Linked DNA regions of Homo sapiens: region 2 is linked to region 1. The links are contacts of gene promoters, found by promoter capture Hi-C in blood cells and fetal thymus (Javierre and others, 2016). All regions are on one chromosome and are shown on one strand. The core of a region is centred on a gene start or on the middle of the fragment in contact, and the rest is flanking DNA. Distances in the headings are between cores, read along the strand shown. Region 1 holds the start of MPEG1 (macrophage expressed 1). Region 2 has its middle 14 kb from the start of PATL1-DT.

Region 1 (5,302 bases), core at 219-2,718:
TATACCCGGAATGCAGTATTTCTAGATTTATAGAACACCATCATGGTTTTGATAATAACTGGTGAAGCCCAGCCTGGGAAGCAAGATAACTAGCCTCATTCTTTCTAAAAACACTTCTTTGCTGCATTAATAACCAACAGAGGAATTCAACTCCTTGGAACCTTCCTTCCAGGATGCATACAGGTGATGGTGTAGTGATACCTGTGAATTGCAACATGACTTTTTCAGTCTCAGTACTGTATCTAGTTCATGGTATAATCTTGGGAATGTTAAGGATGCAACTGGGAGCTTCACTAAGTCCTCTGGATTCCCTGGCTACCACTAAGCATACTAAGACATAGCCTAATTGTCCCAAAGAATTAACAGAGTTGGGTTTCAATCAAACCTGTCACCATTGTTTTAAATTATGGGCTCTAATAGAGCTGGCATTGGAACTTGAAAAGAAACTCATGTAATTATATTCTTCTAATGATATAGCAAATGAATTTTTGCTTTTAGAAAAAATATTGGGTAGTGAAGAGCCACATTCTTTTTTATCCACCTAAACTGATTACACACACTTAGCAATGGAACAAAAAATTAAAGGTATAACAGGTACCAACTTCATACAAAATGCACACACACAGAGGATATATAAATGTGTGTACACATACACATATGTTCCTTGGCCCCTGTCTGCTGTTGATAAATCAAAATCTAGATAATAGTGTGGTTTTGTCTTGAACATTTCTATCTGAATGAAAACAACACAGTGTAGGAGTTCCTTGCCCTCGCTTTGAATGCTTAGGACAATGCAAATTGGGGTTTCCCAGCATATTGCAACCGAATCCTCTTCAGGCCCTGTCAGCTGTGCTCCAGACAATGCCATCCCCAAAGACAGAATTGCTATGGTTCATAACAGTGAAACCCACAGGACAAGTGTCCAAGAGTTTCACTCCTTTCTTTTGTGGAAACAGCCTCCACCCTCAGGCAAAGAGGAAACCCAGGGTTGGCCTTGACTAACAGCTTGCATAGGTATGGTGGAGCCAGGGTGTTTCAGTAAGGGTGGTGTGGTCATTTGCCTCTGCATTTATAGTAAAAGAAAACTGATAATGGAGTCCCAAGAGACAGCAGTCAGGGAAAATATGAAACATCAAGTCCAAGAGAATGAGCAAAAAGCAAAGCCAAACTTTCTGGTGGAGGAAGCAGTAGGGTGTGGGGTCGGGATTTTTTTCTAAGTGCACACCCCTGCAGCAGAGTAACCAGCCAGAGCTGGGGGAAAAATTAGGATAGCTACCTGTTAGGCATGTAGGGGTGTGTTTGCATGTTTAGTACGGCATAAATTCTTCAAAGACCTGATGGTCTTTAATATTCCAACCAACTCTCGTTTCCCCATTTTGTCATTAAATTAGCTTAAAGAGGAACTTGTAGCTTTTAGAGAACTCATGAGTTTTCCGCTTCATCATCTGCTTCTGTTTTCTCCATCTTAGTTTGCCCAAAGCTTGCTGGCCGCTGTGTAGGGCTGGTGAGTGGCTGGGGCTGTCTGAGCCATGAACAACTTCAGGGCCACCATCCTCTTCTGGGCAGCGGCAGCATGGGCTAAATCAGGCAAGCCTTCGGGAGAGATGGACGAAGTTGGAGTTCAAAAATGCAAGAATGCCTTGAAACTACCTGTCCTGGAAGTCCTACCTGGAGGGGGCTGGGACAATCTGCGGAATGTGGACATGGGACGAGTTATGGAATTGACTTACTCCAACTGCAGGACAACAGAGGATGGACAGTATATCATCCCTGATGAAATCTTCACCATTCCCCAGAAACAGAGCAACCTGGAGATGAACTCAGAAATCCTGGAATCCTGGGCAAATTACCAGAGTAGCACCTCCTACTCCATCAACACAGAACTCTCTCTTTTTTCCAAAGTCAATGGCAAGTTTTCCACTGAGTTCCAGAGGATGAAGACCCTCCAAGTGAAGGACCAAGCTATAACTACCCGAGTTCAGGTAAGAAACCTCGTCTACACAGTCAAAATCAACCCAACTTTAGAGCTAAGCTCAGGTTTTAGGAAGGAACTCCTTGACATCTCTGACCGTCTAGAGAACAACCAGACGAGGATGGCCACCTACCTGGCAGAACTCCTGGTGCTCAACTATGGCACCCACGTCACCACCAGTGTCGACGCTGGGGCTGCTCTTATTCAGGAGGACCACCTCAGGGCCTCCTTCCTCCAAGACAGCCAGAGCAGTCGTAGTGCCGTGACCGCCTCTGCTGGACTTGCCTTTCAAAACACCGTGAACTTCAAATTTGAGGAAAACTATACCTCGCAGAATGTCCTCACCAAGAGCTACCTCTCAAACCGAACCAACTCCAGGGTGCAGAGCATTGGAGGGGTTCCTTTTTACCCAGGCATCACCCTCCAGGCCTGGCAGCAGGGTATCACCAACCACCTGGTGGCCATCGACCGCTCTGGCCTGCCGCTGCATTTCTTCATCAACCCCAACATGCTACCTGACTTGCCAGGCCCCCTGGTGAAGAAGGTGTCAAAGACAGTGGAAACTGCTGTGAAGCGCTATTATACATTCAACACCTACCCTGGCTGCACAGATCTCAATTCTCCCAACTTCAATTTTCAGGCCAACACGGATGATGGCTCCTGCGAGGGGAAAATGACCAACTTCTCTTTCGGTGGGGTTTATCAGGAATGCACTCAGCTCTCAGGGAATAGGGATGTCCTCCTCTGCCAAAAGTTGGAGCAGAAGAATCCACTCACTGGTGATTTCTCCTGCCCCTCTGGCTACTCCCCGGTGCACCTGTTATCCCAGATCCACGAGGAGGGTTACAACCACCTGGAGTGTCATCGAAAGTGCACTCTCCTCGTCTTCTGCAAGACCGTGTGTGAAGATGTGTTCCAGGTGGCAAAAGCTGAATTTAGGGCTTTTTGGTGTGTGGCCAGCAGCCAAGTACCTGAAAACTCAGGACTGCTTTTTGGGGGCCTCTTCAGCAGCAAGAGCATAAACCCCATGACAAATGCACAGTCATGCCCAGCCGGCTACTTTCCACTGAGACTCTTTGAAAACCTCAAGGTATGTGTTTCTCAGGACTATGAGTTGGGAAGCAGGTTTGCGGTCCCCTTTGGCGGGTTCTTTAGCTGCACAGTTGGGAACCCCCTGGTAGATCCTGCTATATCCAGAGATTTAGGGGCACCGTCTCTGAAAAAGTGCCCCGGGGGCTTCAGCCAGCACCCAGCCCTCATCAGCGATGGATGCCAAGTGTCCTATTGCGTCAAATCCGGGCTCTTCACAGGAGGGTCCCTGCCCCCTGCCAGGCTCCCACCTTTCACCCGGCCACCCCTCATGAGTCAGGCTGCCACCAATACTGTCATAGTGACCAATTCTGAGAATGCGAGATCCTGGATTAAAGACTCCCAGACCCACCAGTGGAGGCTGGGAGAACCGATAGAGCTGCGGAGGGCCATGAATGTCATCCATGGGGATGGTGGTGGTCTGTCAGGAGGGGCTGCAGCTGGGGTCACAGTGGGGGTCACCACCATTCTGGCTGTTGTTATCACCTTGGCCATCTACGGCACCCGGAAGTTCAAGAAGAAAGCATATCAGGCAATTGAGGAAAGGCAGAGTTTGGTTCCAGGCACTGCAGCAACTGGAGACACCACTTACCAAGAGCAGGGGCAGAGTCCAGCTTAAATCTCTCCCCGAAAATGGTTTCTCTCATCTCCAGTGTGGTCATTGCTGACCACTCTGTTTTCCTAAGCATTGAAATGGCAAGTGCAACCAAAAGTAGGTATATTCGTGACTTCTTGTTTAGGTCTCTGGGCCAGGAAATTCATACTGTTACATGGATAAGGTTGGGATTGGGGAGAGGGAACAGTTGGGACTAGAAGCAAAAGTGATTCTGGGACTAAAATAGGAAGCAGATGTCCTTTCCCAATGTGTGTTGCTGTCTTCACCTGAATGCATTTGTGTAAAAATAGCGGAGGGACAATGTGAACATTTGTATTTGGAAGCTATGAATTTACTCTGAAGTTTGCAGTTGTTTCCAATTTGTGAGCTCTAAGAGTTTCTGCCTGTAAGAACTACTCTCCTTTTATTTTGATTTTTAAAAACCTGTCTGAATTTCACACTCTTAGAGCCTGGAAGAGCCCTGAAAAGACACAAGTCTTGCCTGGCTACTGCTTTTTAACTTTGAGGGCTCTATGTTGACAGACTGTTATCTCCTCTGGGTGACCTCAAACATCTGAAAAGAAAGATGTTGCCTGTGCCAATTCCACTTTTTCCAGCTGCCCCTTGATGAACACTCCCTTATACCAGACCACTCTTGGACTTCTGACTGGTGTCATCAAGTCCTCAGAAAATATTTTAAGTTATTTTAAGTTATTAAGGAAGGGATGATTTGGAGACAAGGAGTAATGAAAGATGGGTAAAAACTGGAAAAGATTCTGGTGCTAAGTACTACCCCTTCATCTTCCATGGATGGTCATTACCTTTCCTGTCCTCCTGTTATATGAACACACACACACACACACACACACACACACACACACACGCACACACATACCACATTTCAATAAGTCTTCATTGTTCTGGGTCCTTACCTTTCCTGTCCTCCTGTTATATGAACACACACACACACACACACACACACACACACGCACACCACATTTCAATGTCTGCATGGTTCTGGGGGTAACAAAGGCAAGAAGTTAAAGTAAGACCACATTTGAGTATTACTTACTCTGTAGAATCAAAACAGAGTAGTTAACACCAATTATGCAAACTACTTTTTTTTCCAGCAGAAAGGGAGCTGACATGATCAAATCCATGTTTTCAAATGAACTGAAAAAGGCATCCAGCACCACTTATAACACATTTATTTCAGTTCCAGGCTGACAGCCCTGGGGCATCTAGCAGGATGCATAATTGTCATCTGGTGAGAGTTGGGACTTTGCTCAATTTTAATACCAATCTCTCCTGATTGTAATTACCTCCACTACTTTCATGATCCCCCTACAATATTTTTTTAAATGATATATTTATTCACTGAATCAAATGTCATTAATGAGTTATCTTCTGTGGAGGATGACTGTTCTCTTTGTTAATGTTCACAATCAAGATCTTGGGCTGAGAAGAGGCCCTTCACCCAAGGAGTTTGAAGTATCACAGTGTGTGGGAAGGTGGGAACCAGGATACCCATTCATTTCCAACCGAGACACAGAGAAGTGAGTCACAGAATTTGAGCCCGCTCTCTTGACTGCCCAGCCAGAGACACTGATTTCTGTAACCTCTTCACTTGATCCTGCCTCTTAAGC
Region 2 (5,110 bases), core at 312-2,811, 470 kb before region 1:
GACGTGGAACTCTTTAATCCATCTTAAGTTGATTTTTTTATATGGTAAGAGATAAGGGTCTAATTTCATTCTTCTACATGTAGATACTGAATTTTCCCAGCACCATTTATTGAAGAGATTATCCTTTTCCCAAGTGTGTTCTTGGCACCTTTGTTGAAAATCAGTTGGCTGCAAATGTGTGGATTTATTTCTGGGTCTCATTCTGTTCCATTGGTCTATATTTCTGTTTATGCCAATACCATGCCATTTTGGTTACTACAGTTTTGTAATATATTTTAAAGTCAAGCAATATGATGCCTTCAAAACTTTGTCCTTTCTGCTCAGGGTTGCTTTGGGTATTTGGAGCCTTTTGTGGTTCCATAAAAATTTTAGAATTTTTTTTTTCTATTTCCATGAAGAATATCATTGGTATTTTGATAGGAATTGCACTGAATTGGTAGATTGCTTTGGGTAGTAGAAACATTTTAACAATATTAATTCTTCTAGTCCATAAAAAAATGGAATATCTTTCCATTCATTTGTGTATTCTTCAATTTCTTTCATCAGTGTTTCACAGTTTTCATTGTAGAGATATTTCACCTCTTTGGTTAAATTTATTCCTAAGCATTTTATTTTGTGCAGCTATTATAATAGGATTGTTTTCTAGATTTCTATTTCAGATAGTTTTCCATCACCATACAGAAATGCTACTAATTTTTATATGTTGATTTTGTATCCCACAACTTTACTGAGTTTGTTTATTAGTTCTAGTAGTTTTTTGGTGGAGCCTCTAGGATTTTGTATATACAAGATCACGTCATCTGTAAACACGTAAAATCTAACTTCTTTATTCCCACTTTGGATGACTTTTATTTCTTTCTCTTGCCAAACTCTTCTGGCTACAATTTCCAGTACTATGTTGAATAGAAGTGGTGAAAGTGGGCATCCTTGTCTTGTTCCACATCTTGAACGCTTTCAGCTTTTCCCCATTCAGTATGATGCTAGCTGTGGGTTTGTCAAATATGCCCTTTATTGTGTTGAGTTATATTTTTTCTATACCTAATTTGTTGAGAGTTTTTATCAGTAAGAGATGTTGGATTTTGTTGAATCTTTTCCTGCATCTGTTGAATTGGCCATATGGATTTTATTGTTCGTTTTGTTAATGTAATATTTTACATTTATTGATTTTATACACTGAACCATCCTTGCACTCCTGGGATGTATCCCATTTGATCATAATGAATATTTTTAATGTGCTAGTGAATTTGTTTACTAGTATTTTGTTGAGGATTTTTGTATCTATTTTCATCCAGGTTATTGGCCTGTAGTTTTTTATTGTTGTGTCCTTGTCTGTTTTTGTAATTAGAGTAATGTTGGCTTCATAGAACAAATTTGAAAGAATTCCCTCCTCTTCAATTTTTTGAAATGGTTTCAGAAGAATTTTATTAATTCTTCTTTAAATGTTGGGAATTCAGCAGTAAGGCCATCAGGTCATGGACTTGTCTTTGATAGGAGACTTTTTATGACTGATTGAGTCTCCTTATTCAATATTGTTCTATTCAGATTTTCTATTTTTTTAATAGTTTAATCTTGGTAAGCTATATGTGCCCAGGAATGTATCCATTTTTCTAGGTTATCTAATTTATTAGCATATAATTGTTGATAATATTCTCTTATGATTCTTTGTATTCTCTGGTATCAGTTATAATTTCTCCTTTTTCACTTTTGATTTCATTTATTTGAATCTTTTCTTTTTCTTAGTCTATATAAAGGTTTGTCAATTTGTTCATCTTTTCAAAAAACTTTTGTTGATCTTTTGTATTTTTTTAGTCTCTATTTCATTATTTCTGCTCTGATGTTTATTATATCCTTCCTTCTATTCATTTTTTTTCCTTCTACTCATTTTTGGTTTAGTTTGTTCTCTTCTAGTTCCTTGAGGTGCAACATTAGGGTTAGGCAGCATGTAGTTGGGTTTTAGATAGATAGATAGATAGATAGATAGATAGATAGATAGATAGATAGATATAGATATATAGATGTATATATAGATTCAGCCATTTTATGTGTTTTAATTGGAGAGTTTAATTCTTTTACATTCAGGTAATTATTGATAGGTAAGAACTTATTACTGTCATTTTGTTAATTGTTTTCTAGTTTGTATTGCATATCTTTTCTTTATTCCTCTCTTACTGTCTTCCTTTGTGGTTAAGTGTTTCTCCCTGGCAGTCTGTTTTGATTCCTTTTTATTTTTAGTATATTGATCATAGGTTTTTGTTTTGTGGTTACCATAAGGTTTACAAAAACATATTCATAACATGTTATACTAAACAGATAACAACTTTGATTACTGATGTCACAATTTACATAATTTTATATTGGAAATCCCTTAAAAAGTATTTTAGTTGTTATTATTTTGAGACAAGGTCTCACTCTGTTGCCCAGGCTAGAGTATAGTGGCATAATCTCGGCTCACTACAACCTCTGCCTCCCAGGCTCAAGTGATCCTGCCACCTCTGCCTCCTGAGTAGCTGGGACTACAGGCATGTGCCACCATGTCCAGCTAATTTTTACATTTATTATTTTTTAAAGTCTTATTTTTTACCCGTAATACTAAGGATATAAGTGGTCCCCCTGCCATTACAGTATCAGAATGTTCTGAATTTTACTATATACTTACTTTTACCAGTGAGTTTTGTACTTTTAGATGTTTTCATGTTACTCATTAGCATCCTTTCATTTCAGCTTGAAGAACTCTCTTTAACATTTTTTGTAAGGCAGGCCTAGTAGTGATGAACTTCCTCAACTTTTGTTTGTTTGGGTAAGTTTTTATTTTTCCTTCATTTCTGAAGGACAGCTTTGCTCGGTACACTATTGTCAGTTGACAGGGTGTTTTTTTCCTTTAGTACTTTGAATATATCATCCTACTCTCTCCTGGCCTACCAGGTTTCTGCTGAGAAGTCCGCTGCTAAGTGTATTGCAAAAGTCCCTTTTATGTTGTTACTTTCTCTTGCTGATTTCAGCATCCTGTCTTTGACATTTACCTTTGACAATTTTATCATAATATGTCTTAGGGTGGTCTTATTAGGATTAAATTTGATTGGTGGCCTATGACTTTCTCGTACCTGGATAATTGTATCTTTCTCTAGGTTTGGAAAGTTTTCTGCTATTATTTCTTTAAATAAGCTTTTTACTCCTTTATCTTTCTCTACTTCCCCTTGAATTCCAATGACCCATACATTAGCTCTTTTGATGTTATCCTATAAATCCCATAAGCTTTCTTCATTCCTTTTCATTATTTTTTCTTGTTTCTCCTATGACAGTATATTTTCTGAAGTGGTGGCCTGCCCCTCCACAACCTGTGGGTGTTTCTCCTCAAGTGGGACGAGAGACTGAGAAAAGAAATACGACACAGAGACAAAGTATAGAGAAAGAAAAGTGGGCCCAGGGGACCGGCGCTCAGCATACGGAGGACCTGCACCGGCACTGGTCTCTGAGTTCCCTCAGTATTTATTGATTACTATCTCTGCCATCTCAGAGATGGGGATATGGCAGGATATAGGGTAATGGTGGGGAGAGGGTCAGCAGGAAAACATGTGAGCAAAGATCTCTGTGTCATAAATAAGTTTAAGGAAAGGTGCTGTGCCTTGATGTTCACATAGGCCAGATTTCTGTTTGACTTTACACAAACATCTTGGTGCATTAAAGAGCAGTATTGCCGCCAGCATGTCTCACCTCCAGCCAGAAGACAGTTTTCTCCTATCTCAGTAAATCGGGTTTTACACCAAGATATTCCATTCCCAGGGAGGAGCAGGAGACAGATGCCTTCCTCTTATCTCAACTGCAAAGAGGCCTTCCTCTTTTACTAATCCTCCTCAGCACAGACCCTTTATGGGTGGCGGGCTGGGGGACATTCAGGTCTTTCCCTTCCCACGAGGCCATATCTCAGGCTATCACATGGGGAGAAACCCTGGACAATACCTGGCTTTCCTAGGCAGAGGTCCCTGCGGCCTTCCGCAGTGTATTGTGTCCCTGGGTACTCGAGATTAGAGAACGGTAATTACTTTTACCAAGCATACTGCCTTTAAGCACTTTTTTAACAAAGCATATCCTGCACAGCCCTAAATCCATTACACCTTGAGTCAACACAGCACAATTATCTGCAAGCACAGGGTTGGGGCTAGGGTTACAGATTAACAGCATCTCAAGGCAGAAGAATTTCTCCTAGTACAGAACAAAATAGAGTCTCTTAAGTTTACTTTTTTCTACATAGACACAGTAACAGTCTGATCTCTCTTTTCCCATTTTCAAATAACCTATCTTCAAGTTCACAGATTCTTTCCTCTGCTTAATTCTGCTATTGATGCTCTCTACTAATATTTTTTAATACTCATTGTATTTTTTAGCTCCTAGATTTCTGGGTTTTTTTTAATTGCAATATCTCTGTTAAATTTCTCTGGTAAATTTTTGAATTGTTTCTCTGTGTTTTCTTGAAGTTCCCTTTAGGGTCAGTCACTGGCATCTTATTTTGTTTGGTGAGGTCAAATTTCCCTGCTTATTCTGGATGCTTGCAGATGTGCGTCAATGTCTGTGTATTAGGTATTTATTCTAGTCTTTGCATTCTGGCTTTGTTTGTGCCTGTTTTACTTCAATAGGCCTGTCTAGAAGTTCTAAGCAGCCTGACTTGTGATTCCTAAGCCTGTGGCTGTTGCAGCCACTTCAGCACTAGAGGGGGCCCTAAGCCCAGGTTCATCACAAGTTTTGCAAGGGCTTTGAGGCTGACACAGCACCCAAGCCAGGATGGACCTGAGGAAGATTGAAGGAAGGTACCTAGGCTGTATAGATAAGCTAGCCAGGGACCCAAGCCCAGAAGACTGTCCCAGTGGCCTGGACAGACACCCCTCCCAGCAGTTCCCTGCACAGGCAGGACAATCCCCACATGTGGAAAGAGGGGCTGGAGCTGAGACTGGGCCCCCTCAAGGGCCCCCATGGAACAGAGGTCAGCAAACCCATCCCATTGGCTTAGGTGGGTGTGGGGCCAGACTTGAGACTGGGTCTCAGAATCTGCTGTTGGACAGAGACTGGAAAGCCCATTGCAGAGGCTCAGATGAATGGGTAACTCCTGTGAGATATG

What was found. The method cuts DNA at HindIII sites, captures the fragments that hold promoters and counts their contacts. A CHiCAGO score of 5 or more calls a contact.
Region 2: a contact is called between a fragment that was not itself captured here and the fragment with the promoter of MPEG1 in region 1, in 1 of 17 cell types (megakaryocytes). The highest score is 5.1, in megakaryocytes.

The regions. Positions count from the first base shown.
Region 1 is chr11:59,209,093-59,214,394 of GRCh38, reverse strand. MPEG1 (macrophage expressed 1) reads left to right here and starts at 1,468. Exons shown (of 1, transcript NM_001039396.2): 1 at 1,468-5,302. The coding sequence starts at 1,530. The coding sequence ends at 3,680. RefSeq lists an enhancer at 1,292-1,491. The HindIII fragment of the contact is 5,135 bases long and covers 1-1,482 here.
Region 2 is chr11:59,680,335-59,685,444 of GRCh38, reverse strand. No RefSeq gene overlaps it. Among named protein-coding and RNA genes, the nearest start is that of PATL1-DT, 14 kb to the right of the region's middle. RefSeq lists an enhancer at 4,567-5,067. The HindIII fragment of the contact is 3,207 bases long and covers 1-3,164 here.